Regions from separate parts of the Homo sapiens genome. Here region 2 is linked to region 1. Evidence: promoter capture Hi-C in 16 types of primary human blood cells and fetal thymus (Javierre and others, 2016). All regions are on one chromosome and are shown on one strand. Each heading gives the region's core, a stretch centred on a gene start or on the middle of the fragment in contact. The rest is flanking DNA. Distances are from core to core; before and after follow the strand shown.

Evidence for each region. The method cuts DNA at HindIII sites, captures the fragments that hold promoters and counts their contacts. A CHiCAGO score of 5 or more calls a contact.
Region 2: a contact is called between a fragment that was not itself captured here and the fragment with the promoter of CNTNAP4 in region 1, in 1 of 17 cell types (megakaryocytes). The highest score is 5.0, in megakaryocytes.

What each region holds. Positions count from the first base shown.
Region 1 is chr16:76,274,656-76,281,899 of GRCh38, reverse strand. It overlaps CNTNAP4 (contactin associated protein family member 4), which reads right to left and starts at 4,499. Exons shown (of 24, transcript NM_033401.5): 1 at 4,153-4,499. The coding sequence starts at 4,237. The HindIII fragment of the contact is 3,956 bases long and covers 3,266-7,221 here.
Region 2 is chr16:76,613,117-76,620,360 of GRCh38, reverse strand. No RefSeq gene overlaps it. Among named protein-coding and RNA genes, the nearest start is that of LINC02125, 18 kb to the left of the region's middle. The HindIII fragment of the contact is 177 bases long and covers 2,709-2,885 here.

The sequences.
Region 1 (7,244 bases), core at 3,250-5,749:
TTTTGTCATGCAGGTTTACTAATAAGTGGAAGAATAAAATTTGAATTTCATATAATTATTTTTTACCATGAAGAATTCTTCTTTTAATTTTTTTCAGCTAAAAATGGAAGAACTATTCTTAGCCCATGGGTCATACAAAAACAGTCACTACTAGCAGGTCAGATTCAGCCCATGGGCCACAGTTTACCAACCTGAGTTAAATATTTTATTATCTTATGATAGATGTTATATAATTCTATTAATCTATTTTCTTTAACAAAAGTCAATTTAATCTTGATATACTCATTAGCTCCAATACAGAAATTGCTTACATATGATATAAATTCCAAAATTAATTTTACAAGACAATAATCTTTATTTCCTAGAGTAAGCACCAGGTATTATGTGAAAGTTATGTTTGATCCCCATGTTGGCCCATGAGTCACGTTATCTCCAGAGCTAGAGGCTGCCTTTATCAGAGATTATTGAGATGCATGTAATAAGAAGTGGAGAAAATGGACTGAATAGATGAAAATAAATCACCATTGCTATTAGAAAAGTGAGTCAAAGTACGTGCTGATCTTTATAGGGGCTAGCCATTTATGCATTGCCTCATAGAATTATATTTTATCAGTACTTTACTATTGCATTCTAGTTATTTTCTGCTATAGGAGTAAATATGGTGGGGGGAGGAAAAGAAAGTAGCTTCTAGAAAGAATTACAAGGTTGAGTTTTAACAATGTGAGAATCTGTCCAGCTGTCTCCCAGGACCCACAAGAGTGATCATCTACTTAGGCAATTTGCCTTCATCTATCCTTCAGTGCTTCTTTTAGGGTAGGTATCAGATACGGCCTTTATTTCCATCAGAGAAAAGAAAGAACACAGTGAGATGTTAACTTCTAATTAAGTCATTGGGGAGCATTAATTATTCTCAAGAGTACGGCTCAGTATACCAGTAACTAGAGAGCCTCCCTCACATAATCTGCAAGAGTTAAAATAAAAGCAAACTCTTATCAGCCTTACTACTGTACCCATTCCTTCTTTTGGGGTAAGTTGACCCCATCTTCAACCATGTCTTAATGTTCAAAAACTGGATTTATAAGAGCTATTAAAAAATAGAGAAATGTCTCTGTTCTTAATGCATGTCTCTTAGTAGCAAGCAAAGAAACCAAGAACAGCCAGTGCAGCTTCTCAAAGAGCACACCCATCTGCAAGGATCCGTCTCTAAACTTTGATGGAAGGGACACTTCAATATAATTGTAAAAGCTCATCTTGATGAGAACAAAGAGAAAAAAATTATGGCTAGTCCACTGCTTTTGAAATGTCAGACAGGATACTAGTAGGCAGGGAGCGTGGTTCATTCAACATATTTCATCTTTAGACAGATAAGTACTTAACAGGGCCACCAAAAATATGCAAGCACATGAGTCTAGTAGTTTACAGATATCTACATACACATATACGTATATACAAATGAGCACGAGTCTAGTAGTTTAGATATCTACATACACATATACCTATATACAAATGAGCACATATACATATATGTGAACATATATGTTTGTCTTTGAACAGAATCCTTCTAATGTAAAGTTTCCCTGCTGTTTAATTGGATCAATTAACATTCAAATTAAAGTGCACCTAATCCCTGAGCTGTACTGGTTTTGCAGAGTTCTGTCCCATGAAAGCTTTCAAACTGGCAACCTTGGGCTGACTCTGTAGATGACAGATTTGCTCCTGGCTCATCAGCTGTAAATAAAGGGGAAAAGTCTTTCTAGTCCTTTAATTTTATTTATTTATATTCAGTTATTTCCAATATTACTATTGGTAGTCAAGACTGACTCACTTTTTCTTAATATAAAGTCTTGTCCAGAAGAATTATTGGAGTCATTATAATACTTTAGAAATGCATATGCTGGTTGATAGTTGCTTGTCCTTACACTAAATTCCAGTCTTGCTGGGAAATATATATACACTTGTCCTTCCAAAAAGGATGAAACATATGAAGTACTTTCCACCATGGCTTGGTACAAGTAGACCTTACTTCTTCCAAAAAGAAAATACTTCTTAAATATTGAAAAATGAAATAGAAATTGAGAAATGAAATATTTTCTTTTACACATACTGCTGCAAATCATATTGTCAAAATATTCACAATAAATTACTGAGTGCAACTTTAATTATATAAGGTCATTTCATTTTATTTTTGACACTTGAAGAACAGTCAACTCCACATGCATGGTAAGCAAGAACTCCAACTTTAAATGTTTTTTATAATGAAAAATCGTATAGGTTTTGCAAGTTCATCAGATGTTTAAAAGAGCATTAGACTACTTCCTTAACAAACCAAGGCTGAAAGAATATAGAACCAGCACTGAAATTTTAAGTGTCAGTGAGGGATCCAACCAGAGCCAAGCAGACATAAATATTACACTCTCCTCAGATCTCTTTCAGCACCTTTTCTTTTCTAAGAAGATATATGGCAAAAGAAAGCTATTTAATGTTGATGTACACCCTACACTTTTTATTGAGCTTCAAGAAAACAAGCAAACATAAACAACTAGCAGCCCAAATAATTAGATTAATGTATTTTAAACCCAACTACAGGCAGTCTAGTGGAAAGACTGAATGGAGTACAGGCCAGATTTAAGCTCTGCTTTTCTTGAGGGAAGGATGCTTGGGGTGATGTGCTTTACATTGTAAGAGTGACCTCTAGTGCTTTTCTTTTTGGTTGAACTTTAGTGGTTGGAAGATGAATTACTTATGCCTTTTCTACAGAACTTCCATTTGTGTGTGGGTGTTGTTGTTATTGTTTGCTTGTATGATGCAATGTTTTTCTAATGCTACCATTATAAGATTCCAAGGTTTTGACTAGGTGAAATTATACATTTTATTGACTTATGAGATTATCACAACACTCAAACTAAAGTTGAATCTGATGTGCAGCACCTGAAGTGAGGTTCCTTCTTTCAGAGTGATGGATACCCTGTGACATTAAATGAGCCCATTCTGAACTGAAACACGAAATCACGGGAGCCAGGTACTGTGAGGGGACATTTGACTTGTGCCCATGAGTTTGTCATGTTTTTCACATATCAGAACTCTTAACATAGTCAAGTGATATGCCATAGCAAATGTCTGATTACTGCCTCTGTTCCCCAAATCTAAGCCTGATGATACAGCAGCAACATAAATTCCTGGACAGGCCTCATAGCCAGTTCTTGGAAAGCAAATGAGCTTTTCCTTTAAAATCCAAGAAAAAATAAAAAGTTGTATTTGCCAAGCTTGTTTGTCATTAATCAGGAGGGGAAAATTCTCCCATTTAGAGAATTTAAGCCAAAGATAACTTTTAAAACTTTTTCTATCTCTAATAAAGAGTGGATGAAGGGAGTCTGCCAAATTATTATGGATGATATCTAAATTATAAATAAGATTTCAATCTTCCCTAAATAGGTTCTATTTCATCAGAACATTCAATTACAAATTTATGCAGTTAAGCATTCAACCACAAAGGAATCCTACTTTTGAAAGACCACCTGACTGGTTTTCCTTTAAGCGAAATGTAGGAAGAGGCTCCTCTTTCCGGAGAGCGCTAAGTCTCATTCTCTTAGCAGCGAGGGCACAGCTCTTAATACTGAGACTCGCCTCAGCCAGTGCTGGTGCTCCTGAAGCCTGCAGTACATTTCAGTTATTAGCCTGCATTATTTTAAAGATGCAGGCAGCTACTGGTCTGCCCAATTGCAAACTTCAGAAATCTAAGCCAATGCAGCATAATGTAAAGTCTGCCAGTTGTTTTCCTCTTAGACATAATTCCAATAAAATTCAGTAGTTCTTTAAAAAAGAAGAAATGAAGATATTCACAGGCTATTCCCCCGATAAGATGCTAATTTCATGTTTTACTAGAACTTGGGCATTCTCAATGAATACTCAAAGACCAGAGGGTAAGATTCTGCGAGTAGACAAAAAGAGAAATGACACTTTGCCTATTTTGACCAGACCAAGAGGAGAGACAAGTGTTAACCGGTCACATTGGCAAGATTTTTAAGTGATGCTTGGTTTACAGCAATACGCTTTGCAGCAATCCCAGCTGCAAATAATCATCATCAAACCAACAGAATCAAAGTTTTGCAGAGAGCCCCCCAGCAAGTTTTAAATCATTTGCTGTATACTTACAGGAATTCCCAGCTTCGACTCTGTTCCAATTTTGAGTAGATAACAGAAGTAGCGTCTTGAGGACAGCTCCCGTGACAGATCCCATGTTCACATTTATTGGGCTCCCCCAAAAGATCTTGAGAGGCTCTCAGAGCGCTCCAGTCCTCTTCTCAGTAGCTCTGCCAGCTCTGTCTGGGTCTTCAGCCCCTCTAGGTCTCTGTCTCTCCCCCTCCCTTCCTCCTCACCTCCCTCCGTCTTTTCTTCTTCCCTCCTCCCTCTCTTCTCTCTCCCTCTCTCTCTCCCCGTCTCTGTCTCTCTCTTTTCTCTCTCTCTCTCACACACACCTCCCTGACTCCTCACTGAAAAGCACTCAGCATCTTTCCTAACAAGCATCCACACCGCCGAGGCCACGCCCACTCCTCGCAGCAGCGGTCCCACAAATTGGCAGCAGCATCCTTCCTTCCAAACACACAACAGCGCTCGAGCTCCGCTGCACCCAGAGGCGCGGCCTCCCGTTCGTGGGCCTCCTTGGGGCTCCCTCCCTTCTCTTCTATTTTCCAATAATCCTTAACCCTTTTCTCCCAGCTGGAGGTGTGAGTGGGGGAAGGGACAAGGCGGTGGAGCCTTCTGATTTTCTGGAGGTCTTGCATTTGCAAGAGCCAGAAAACACACTGAGCCATTCCTGATTATCCGGGAGTGCATCCAGGTAAAATTGCATTATGTTTCAAAACAAAAGCATAAAATAAGACAGAAATAACTAAGCAGCATTGGGAAATTGTAGCTAAAACCGTCCTCAGGGAAAATACTTGCTGTTGTTTTTCTCTGTTTCTATAAAACTGTACTCTTCAGCGAGGGTGCCAGGATTTTATTATGGAAATTCCCCACATGGGAACAGACATTCCTGCTTAGCAGATATTTAAAATCATCTGGTAGTAGTCTGCAAGAAATTAACATTTCTTATTTTAATGCTTCAGGTGTATAAATCCACAAATGAAATGCTTTGGCTAGATTTATGTTGATGAATGCATCATGCTGTGAATATGAAGTACCATTCTATAATCAAAATTTTTAATAACATTTCCAAAAAGGCCCAAAGTAGGAAATGAGGGAATACTGAAGAAAGGGACCTCCACCACCACCACATACACACATGCATACACATTCACACAAACACTGAACAATGTGACGATGTAATTCAGGTGACTTAAAGGAGAGAGGAGTAAAGTTGAATTTGGAAGATCAATGATTAAAGAAAAATTACTCTTTGAATGGCTGGTCCATGGATACAACTGTTTCTTGAATGGAATTTTAAAATGTCTAAATAATGGAGTTACTATCACATAACAAGAAGCATGTCACATGGTTCATAGCAGATAAATAATCTATTTAAAATAAATGTCAAGATGTTTTACTGATAATGTGCTAGATTTTATACAAATGGAAATCCTGGAGTTCTTAAGTGCCTCTTGGTAATCACAAATTGGAAGAAACATAAGCCTTTAACACCACTTTCTTATGGAATAATGAGAGTGGGTTTGTCAAAGATCAGATAGGTTTGTCAAAGAGTGAGAAAATGACAGAAATACCCGTAAGAACTAAACATGCTTGTTTAGCTCATGCCTGCAAACAAAGCAGAATGCATCTTTTTTCTTTTCCTGTTTTACAAGAGAAAACAAGAACAGAGAATTTAAATGATTCGAAGAGGTCATAGAGTTAGTAATAAATGCTGAGGACTGGATTTGGCTTTTCTGACTCCAGTTTTACTGCTCTCACCCTAGGACTTATTGCCCCTAAATCAGAGTATACCTCCTTCCTGACCCTTGTCAGTGGCAGCAAAAACCTTAGGCCCTAGGAAAACACAGCAAACACTTTGGGAGGCCAAGGTGGGCAAATCACTTGAGGTCAGGAGTTCGAGACCAGCCTGGCCAACATGGTGAGATCCCATCTCTACTAAAAATAAAAAAAATAGCAGGGTGTGGTCGCAGGCAACTGTAATCCCAACTACTTGGGAGGCTGAGGCAGGAATTCGCTTGAACCCGGGAGGCAGAGGTTGCAGTGAACCAAGATTACACCACTGCACTCCAGCCTGGCCAATAGAGCGAGACTCTGTCTCAAAAAAAAAAAAAAAAAAAAAAAGGATAAATACAATAAAATAAAGAAAGGTCATGGGTTGAGTGTTTATTCTGTGTTCCTAGACTTGCATTCCTGATTTTATTTTTTCAATCATATGCTAAGTAAAAGCAGATATAAATTAACAGTTTATGTTAACTAATTATTGAAGGAGATTAAATTTTACTGAACACATACTATATGCCATTTGTTATCTAATTGAATAATTATATCAGTCCTTTGAAGAAAATATCATGTCTGTGGGACGGTTGTGGGCTCTCCAGAAGAAAAAAGTTGTCTCGTTGTTACAATATTGTATTTAATTGTTCTCTTAAAACAAATTAGAGAATGCATCTTAAATGGATAAGTACACATAGCAAAAATGAAAAATAAACATTTTATAACAATAATAACTTCTTTGGGACAATGTATAAATTATTATAGTGACCAATACTGGCGGATTTTTCCATATCAATGGGCTACAGTAATAGAAGGAATTGGGGGCTGGCCCTCAATAGAAGACCTGAGCATTTCAAGTCACTGCAAAACCTGTCTCTGCCTGATGGCTGCAGAGGGGTAGAGAGTTGCCTAGACAAATGAAACAGTGAGTGCTTGAGATATGGTAAACAGAGAGGCCTCAGCCGGGCGCGGTGGCCCACGCCTGTTATCCCAGCCCTTTTGGAGGCCGAAGCGGGCAGATCACGAGGTCAGGAGATCGAGACCATCCTGGCTAACATGGTGAAACCCCGTCTCTACTAAAAATACAAAAAATTAGCCAGGCATGGCGGCAGGCGCCTGTAGTCCCAGCTACGTGGGAGGCTGAGGCAGGAGAATGGCATGAACCCAGGAGGCGGAGCTTGCAGTGAGCTGAGATCGAGCCACTGCACTCCAGCCTGGGCGACAGAACAAGACTCTGACTCAAAAAAAAAAAAAAACAAAACAAAACAAAACAAAAAAACCAGAGCGGCCTTGATACAAGCTTCCACTGTTGTTTTGATTAAATG
Region 2 (7,244 bases), core at 1,548-4,047, 340 kb before region 1:
AAGGGTGTAATTTTTTGAAAAGTAAGTAAACATATTACAAAATATTGTTCTCAGTACATTAAATATCAACGTTCAAGAGAATTTTTAAATGTGCTCCAGAGAGATAATTACCACAAAAAACAACCCTGATTACTCCTTCTATTAGATTTTATTCATTTTTTAATTTCTTTATTTATTTTACAAATTTTCTTGTAGCATCTATTGTGGGTTAGGCATTACAAAGTGCCCTAGGAACTTAATTATGTGTTTAATAAATATTTATTGAATCAACATTAGGTAAGTGGGAGAACAAAACAGAACTTCATGTCTAGGCTTTTGCAGTCCACAGAGAAGTTGCCACCATGAATTGTCTTTCATCTGAGACCTGAAGGATGAGCCATGAAACAAAGTTCATTGGTGCTCTGGTTTATGATGGATGACTGGACCCTTCCCTGAGGTAACGGGTGATGCAAAGCACAGGGCAGGGCGTTTATTGCTGTCCTAGCACTGTGATTGCAAATGCTTTGCTTGTTGGTTGAGTGGTCTCTGTGCCATGTGCTATATCTCAGGTGACCTGAGGGGGTCTGGGTGATTAAGAAGTTACTTGGGAAGCCTTTAAGCCACTCCTTGGGAAAGTTCAACCTCTTAGCTGAATCTGGCAGCTAGGAAGTTGGTTCTGGAACTTCGAATGATGACTACTGGAGAGAGAGTTCACTCTGGCTTGGGTTATTTGTCTATCTGTTCAGTATCTCGTATCTCTTTCAATTAAGTCATTCTTATCAGCATTCCAATGCACTTTATCATTTCTAACTTGAAAACCAATCCACACCCCTCCAGGTACCACTGTATACTCCACTTCCCTCTGTTGGTAACTTTTTTTTTTTTTTTTTTGAGACGAAGTCTCGCTCTGCCGCCCAGGCTGGAGTGCAGTGACGCGATCTCCACTCACTGCAAGCTCCGCCTCCCGGGTTCAGGCCATTCTCCTGCCTCAGCGTCCCGAGTAGCTGGGACTACAGGCGCCCGCCACCACACCCGGCTAATTTTTTGTGTGTTTTTAGTAGAGACGGGGTTTCACCGTGTTAGCCAGGATGGTCTGGATCTCCTGACCTCGTGATCCGCCCACCTCGGCCTCCCAAAGTGCTGGGGTTACAGGCGTGAGCCACCGCGCCCGGCCCTCTGTTGGTAACTTTTTAAAGGAGTAGTCTACACATGGTATCTTCAGTTCTTCGTCATTCATGTCTCACTCCAATCTGGCTGCCAAACTCAGATACCCATTTTGTAGCATCCAATAGGCATTTTTCAGTCCTTATCTTACCATAGCCAACAGCATTTGATTCAGTTGTTACCCCCTTCCTCCTCATACTCTTCTGACTTTTACATCACCACCCTAACCACTGCTGCTCCTAAAACTGAAATTCTTCTGAGTCTGTCTCTCTTTCAAGGTTCTCTTTTCATATGGTCCCTAAAATATTGAATGTTTGTAAGGCTCAGTCTAGGATCTCCTCTTTTAACGCTCTATTTTCCTCCTAGGTGATAGCATTCATTCTCGTGGCTTTAAATACTACCCTTATATCAATAGCGTCAAACCTTACATTTCCAGTACTAATGAGCTTCAGGTCCATTTAGTCAAATGCCCAGTTAACAGATACGAAGATTTCAGGATAGCTCAGACTTCACATGCTCAGGAGGGGAACATTGATATTATTGATATTCTGATAGTAATCTTAATAAAAATAACTTCCACCCACCCAGTTGATAAAGAAATGTCCGTCTGTACAGTTTTCCCACTCTCACCTCCCACACTCTAGTAATTAGAAAAACCTTGTAGTTTACATAAAAATATTTTCTAATCTCTCAGTTACCTCTGCCCGAAGGCCACCTTCCAAGCTGTCCCAGCCTCTTACACCTGTTCTTGACAGCTATGCTGTGACTCATTGCAGTCCCTTTTCCACACATCACACAGGTCAAAATTTAATATGTGAACCAGGTGTATCATTTAGTTACTTCAGCCCCATTATGAACATCCTCATCCATCAAGGGCTATATCTTTCCTGTATATTCACACAAAGCAGTACTACAGAGGAATGAAGGGTGATCAATTAACATCAGGTGCAACAACATGGGTATATCTCAGAAATGTAATGTTGAGTGAAACAAGCCAAACATAAAACAGCTCTTACCTTATAATTTTATTCATATAATGCTAATAAAAGAAGTCAAAATGATCAATGCTGGTAGAAGTTAGCATTGGAGGCCGGGTGCGACGGCTCACGCCTGTAATCCCAGCACTTTGGGAGGCCGAGGTGGGCGTATCACAAGGTCAGGAGATCAAGACCATCCTGGATAACATGGTGAAACCCCGTCCCTACTAAAAAATACAAAAAATTAGCCGGATATGGTGGTGGGCACCTGTAGTCCCAGCTACTTGGGAGGCTGAGGCAGGAGAATGGCGTGAACCCGAGAGGCGCAGCTTGCAGTGAGCCGAGATTGTGCCACTGCACTCCAGCCTGGGCCACAGAGCAAGACTCCATTGCAAAAAAAAAGAAAAAAAGAAAAAAAAAAGAAGTTAGCATTGGAGTTACAAATGGATACATAATAACTACAAAGAATTGAACTGGTAATGTTCTGCAGCAGCTCCCTGGATATCTTCACTTTGTGAAAATTCATTGAACTGTATAGTTAAGGTTTGTGCCTTTTCCTTTATACAGGTTATGCCTCAATAGGAAGCTTACTTTAAAACTCAAAGAGTGTTTGGGTCTTTCACTTCTGTTATTGTTACTAACCGCTCTGTGTACATTAAAACTAAGAAATAGAAATGGTAGCATTTTCTGCTGGGTAATTATTGTGTATTTAGAAAAATGCCTAATTATATATTCAACTAACACACAAGAATGATTTCGAAAGCTTTGGCTAATATGAAAACTATGTGTTCCGAATAAATAATATCCTGTTGTCAGAAAAGTAAATAGCCAGGCCTATGATTAAATAATGTTAATACAACTATGGTAAAGAAAATAAATTAAAAACATAAACAAAGTCTAGAAATACAATATTAAAAGTGCCATTCTGGTTATTACATTGATAGGAACAATAATACTATTCTGTTTCAATGGGAAAAGCAACACAGAGGAGCTCTGAGAATCTATGTTTTACAAATCAAATTTACAATATGAAAGCTGTTCTTGGAACTGTGAGGTTTCTTAGTAATCACTTAAGGTTGAAATTTTTATTTTACATATCTAGATATAAAAGAACTGTGACACTGAATTCAGTTTTAGGACATTGGAGTTACTTGTATACAAATTTCTTATTTTTTAATTTCATGGTCATTTTTGAGACATACAATAATATGCATTTGTGGGTCAAAATTATCAAAGCCAGTAAACAAGACATATTCTGTTTGTAAAAACAAACAATAATAAATTGGTTTTGAATTTGCAAGACAATATTATTGTATTGACTTTCAGAACAAATTCTATCCCTTGAAACTTCTCAATCAATCATACAATATGAGGTGAAATATAAAATAGAAATAACCATTCAAACGTGATGTAAATTATAGCATCAATTATTTTTCTTCGGTTTGAGAGTTATGTTTATCTGGACTGAAGAATGAAGACTAATCTGAACTGAAACACTAAAGACTATCATTTGGAAGTACGATGTGAAAACTATTAATATGATTAAGCAGTTCAATTAAAACATAAATTATTCACTACGCTTGAAAACTCAGCTTTACTAAATCATTAAAAGTTCTATACATTAAAGTTAAAATTACAAATACATGTATTATCTGGTTTATGATGGATGACTGGACTCTTCCCTGAGGTAACAGAAAATATATATTTTCTGTTTTATCATCCTTATTATTTGAATGAAAGATGTTAAAGTTATACACTAATGTGGCTTTCCTCTTGTTTCTCTTCTGTTATTTTTCATAAACTTTTATGACAACTTTAGCAGCAAATCAGAATTTTTACTGATTCTCTACAGACTTAGGCAATCAAGCATATTCCTAAGATATATTTGCATACAATTTTTAGTAGGTAAGATTTTGTAATGTTTTAATGTTTCCAATGGGGGAAAAGTCTCCAAAACAAATAGGAGTTTCATTACCAGTCTAAAGACAACTTCATTTTCCTATTTTCAAACGATTAAGTCCATTTTGCAGCAGCTGATAAACATCAGCCTGAATGAGATCTTCTTTGTGAGCATGGGGGCTTGGGTAGAGAGCTGGGCAGATGGATGTTTCAGTCAGTCATGAGCATGGAGCACGACCCCTTCAAATTCCATTTCACGACTCACTTCATGTTCAGAGCTGAATTTGCATGAAAATCAAATTCATAAATTCAGCCACGGCTTTGATCAGAAATTTTTCGGTTGTTATCATTCTTTTTGAATTGTTGTAAAAGTCATGGCAGATGGTATGTTTCTGAAATGTCTACTGATGCTCATCTTCCTTCTCTCAACACAGCACAGTACTAGAAAATCGTTAGCACCTTCCTAGGACAAGGCCTTCTTAGAACCTGAATGATCCTTAGATAACACCTTCATTTCATAAATGAGGAAAGTAAAGTTACAATCTGAAACAGGACCTGTCTCTCTTCCTCCCAGCCCAGTGACCTTTCAGATACACCAGTGTGGTCTCCAAGAAAGTGTGCAGTAAAGCCTGGGAAACATTGTGAGTAATGAGAAACTTTGCTATAGAAATGATCAAGAGAAGATAAAGCAATTTACGTACACACACATACACACTCACACACACAGACACATATCTATGCAACTTATGTGTTATATATTTATATAGCATATTTATATTTACATCTACATATACTTCATAAAAATTATAAAAGGAAATAAATCAATTTACATACATTTTCAATTGCTTTATATTTCTTTTATGTATGATTAATGCATATTTATATATAGATCTCCCTATAAATTATATTTACAACAATTAGCTAAAATAACCTGTTATATGAGAGCACAGAGTTTGGAAAGCAGAAACATTTGAATGCCAGATCTGCCACCTAACACCTCTGTAGCTGTATGACCTTGGACATGGTATTTAAAATTTCAGAGACTCAGTGTTTGTTGTTGCTTTTAATATATACGGGGCTGGACTGTGGACTAGATAAGTTAATGTTTATAAATGTTTACCATTTATCATGCCTGATGCATGGCAGTTAAGATGCTTATTTTCCAAGTTTCAAAAAAATTTCCCATGCATGCGAGCAAGTACAATAACCCATATCATTTGCCAGGAAATAGGCCAATTGCTTTTTTTTTTTCTTTTTTTGGCATAGGATCACATTTATCATGTAAAGTTGGTATGACTGACATCATGGTTACAGATAAGGACATAAATCCTTAGAGGGGTGAAATGGCCTGCCCAACGTATACTGAAAGTAACTGGTATAGCTCTTATCTACGTCACTAAGATGTAAATGGAAAAGTAATTTCAATTTAAGCCACACAAAAAGCTCTAATTCAAGGACTGCAAGTGTGTTTGCCTCAGTAATCCATTTTCCAAAATTAACCTCATTCTTACAATTTCCACTTTCCTGAAATATTAAAATACTTTAAGTTTCTACTCTGATATTTATTGCTCAGATGAATATAATATAGTCATGAGATTACACAAAGACCTTCAGATCTCTTTTTGCCTGACATAACCTATAGACAGGTTCTTAAACAATGATCAGCATTGCAATAAACAGAAATTAGATACCTATAAGTTGGAACTTTAATCACACACTATACTGTGATCTGAAATCTCCATAATCATTAATACATTTCTAGGCCAGGACCCAAGACTCTATTTAGTACTATAATTTAGAAAGCATCTCTTCTGCATTTAACATATAGGCAACATGCCAAGAAAGGAAACAAAAATGGTCTTGATTTGTTTGCCAGCTGGCACTTTGGGCTGAATGGCCAGCTACCAAAGAACTGCCATTTGTCACAAAGGAAAACAAAATGAATTCCTTGCTAAGTGTACATACTTCTTACTGTTGAAAAATTATCCTAAGAATAAACTAATTGCCTCTGTAAAACACAAGTTCATCTCACCCAGCATCCATCTGGAAACTCTGAGAGAGACAAATATAAAATTGCTGGCAGTAGGGATTTTGGATTTAATACAACTATTGATATATGGCAATTAATAACCTTTTTCTGTTGAAATTGTTTCAGTAGAGTTAGTACCCCATTTTTACTGTAAGTAATTTTCTTTTATGAATGCTGTTAATTAAATAGGGAAATTATATGGCTGTGTTATATGTATGTATATAACAAAATCCTGTGTGTGTGTATATATATAATTTAATTGGCACCTGAAGTACCTATATATTGTAAAATTACTTAAAACCCACAATAGTCTCCTTCATACAATTATAATAAATAATTCCTGGTCATTTTAATTAAATTATTTACAAGCATCAGAGATATTTAGAAACACATGAGGCTTGCTTTTGAAAATAGGATTTGAGATTGAATTCATGCAGGTAAAACACTAAAATTTAGTCATATCCATAGGCAAAACAAAAAATGTAAAATGTTGAGCAGTTATTTTCTGGCTACCACTAGTTAACCAGTTGTCATTTCAAGTATTTAGCTCAGGTTTTTCTCTGGAAGATGTGTCAATTTGGAATTTCTTATCTCTTCCGACTCTCCACATCATTCAACTTGAAGTTTGAAAAGGAGCACTGACATAGAAGATTCCACACAAGTAGATATTTTAAAATGGGTAAAATCTTACGAGACGGCTTTAATAATTGTCTAGTGCATTAGGAACTATATACTAGGATATGGTGCAGTAGCATCCATTACACGGAAACCTTGCATCTTAACATTCCCAACTGCCTTCTTTACAATGTTCACTTAACTCTTAAGTAATCACACTTGAGTTGTAAAGAGATCCAGGTCCAAAAATTCCACTTCATGATCATTCTATTCATAAATTATATGGGCCAGAGTGAGGGGAGAAGAGCAATTTGGGCAAATTTTTAATAAAAAAAAAATAGGCTAGGCACAGTGGCTCACACCTGTAATCCCAGCACTTTGGGAGGCCGAGGCGGGCGGATCACCTGAGGTCAGGAGCTCAAGACTAGCCTGGCCAACATGGTGAAACCATGTTTGTACTAAAAATACAAAAATTAGCTGGGCATGGTGGCACACGCCTGTAGTCCCAGCTACTCGGGAGGCTGAAGCGGGAGAATCGCTTGAACCCAGGAGGCAGAGGTTGCGTGAGCCGAGATCGTGCC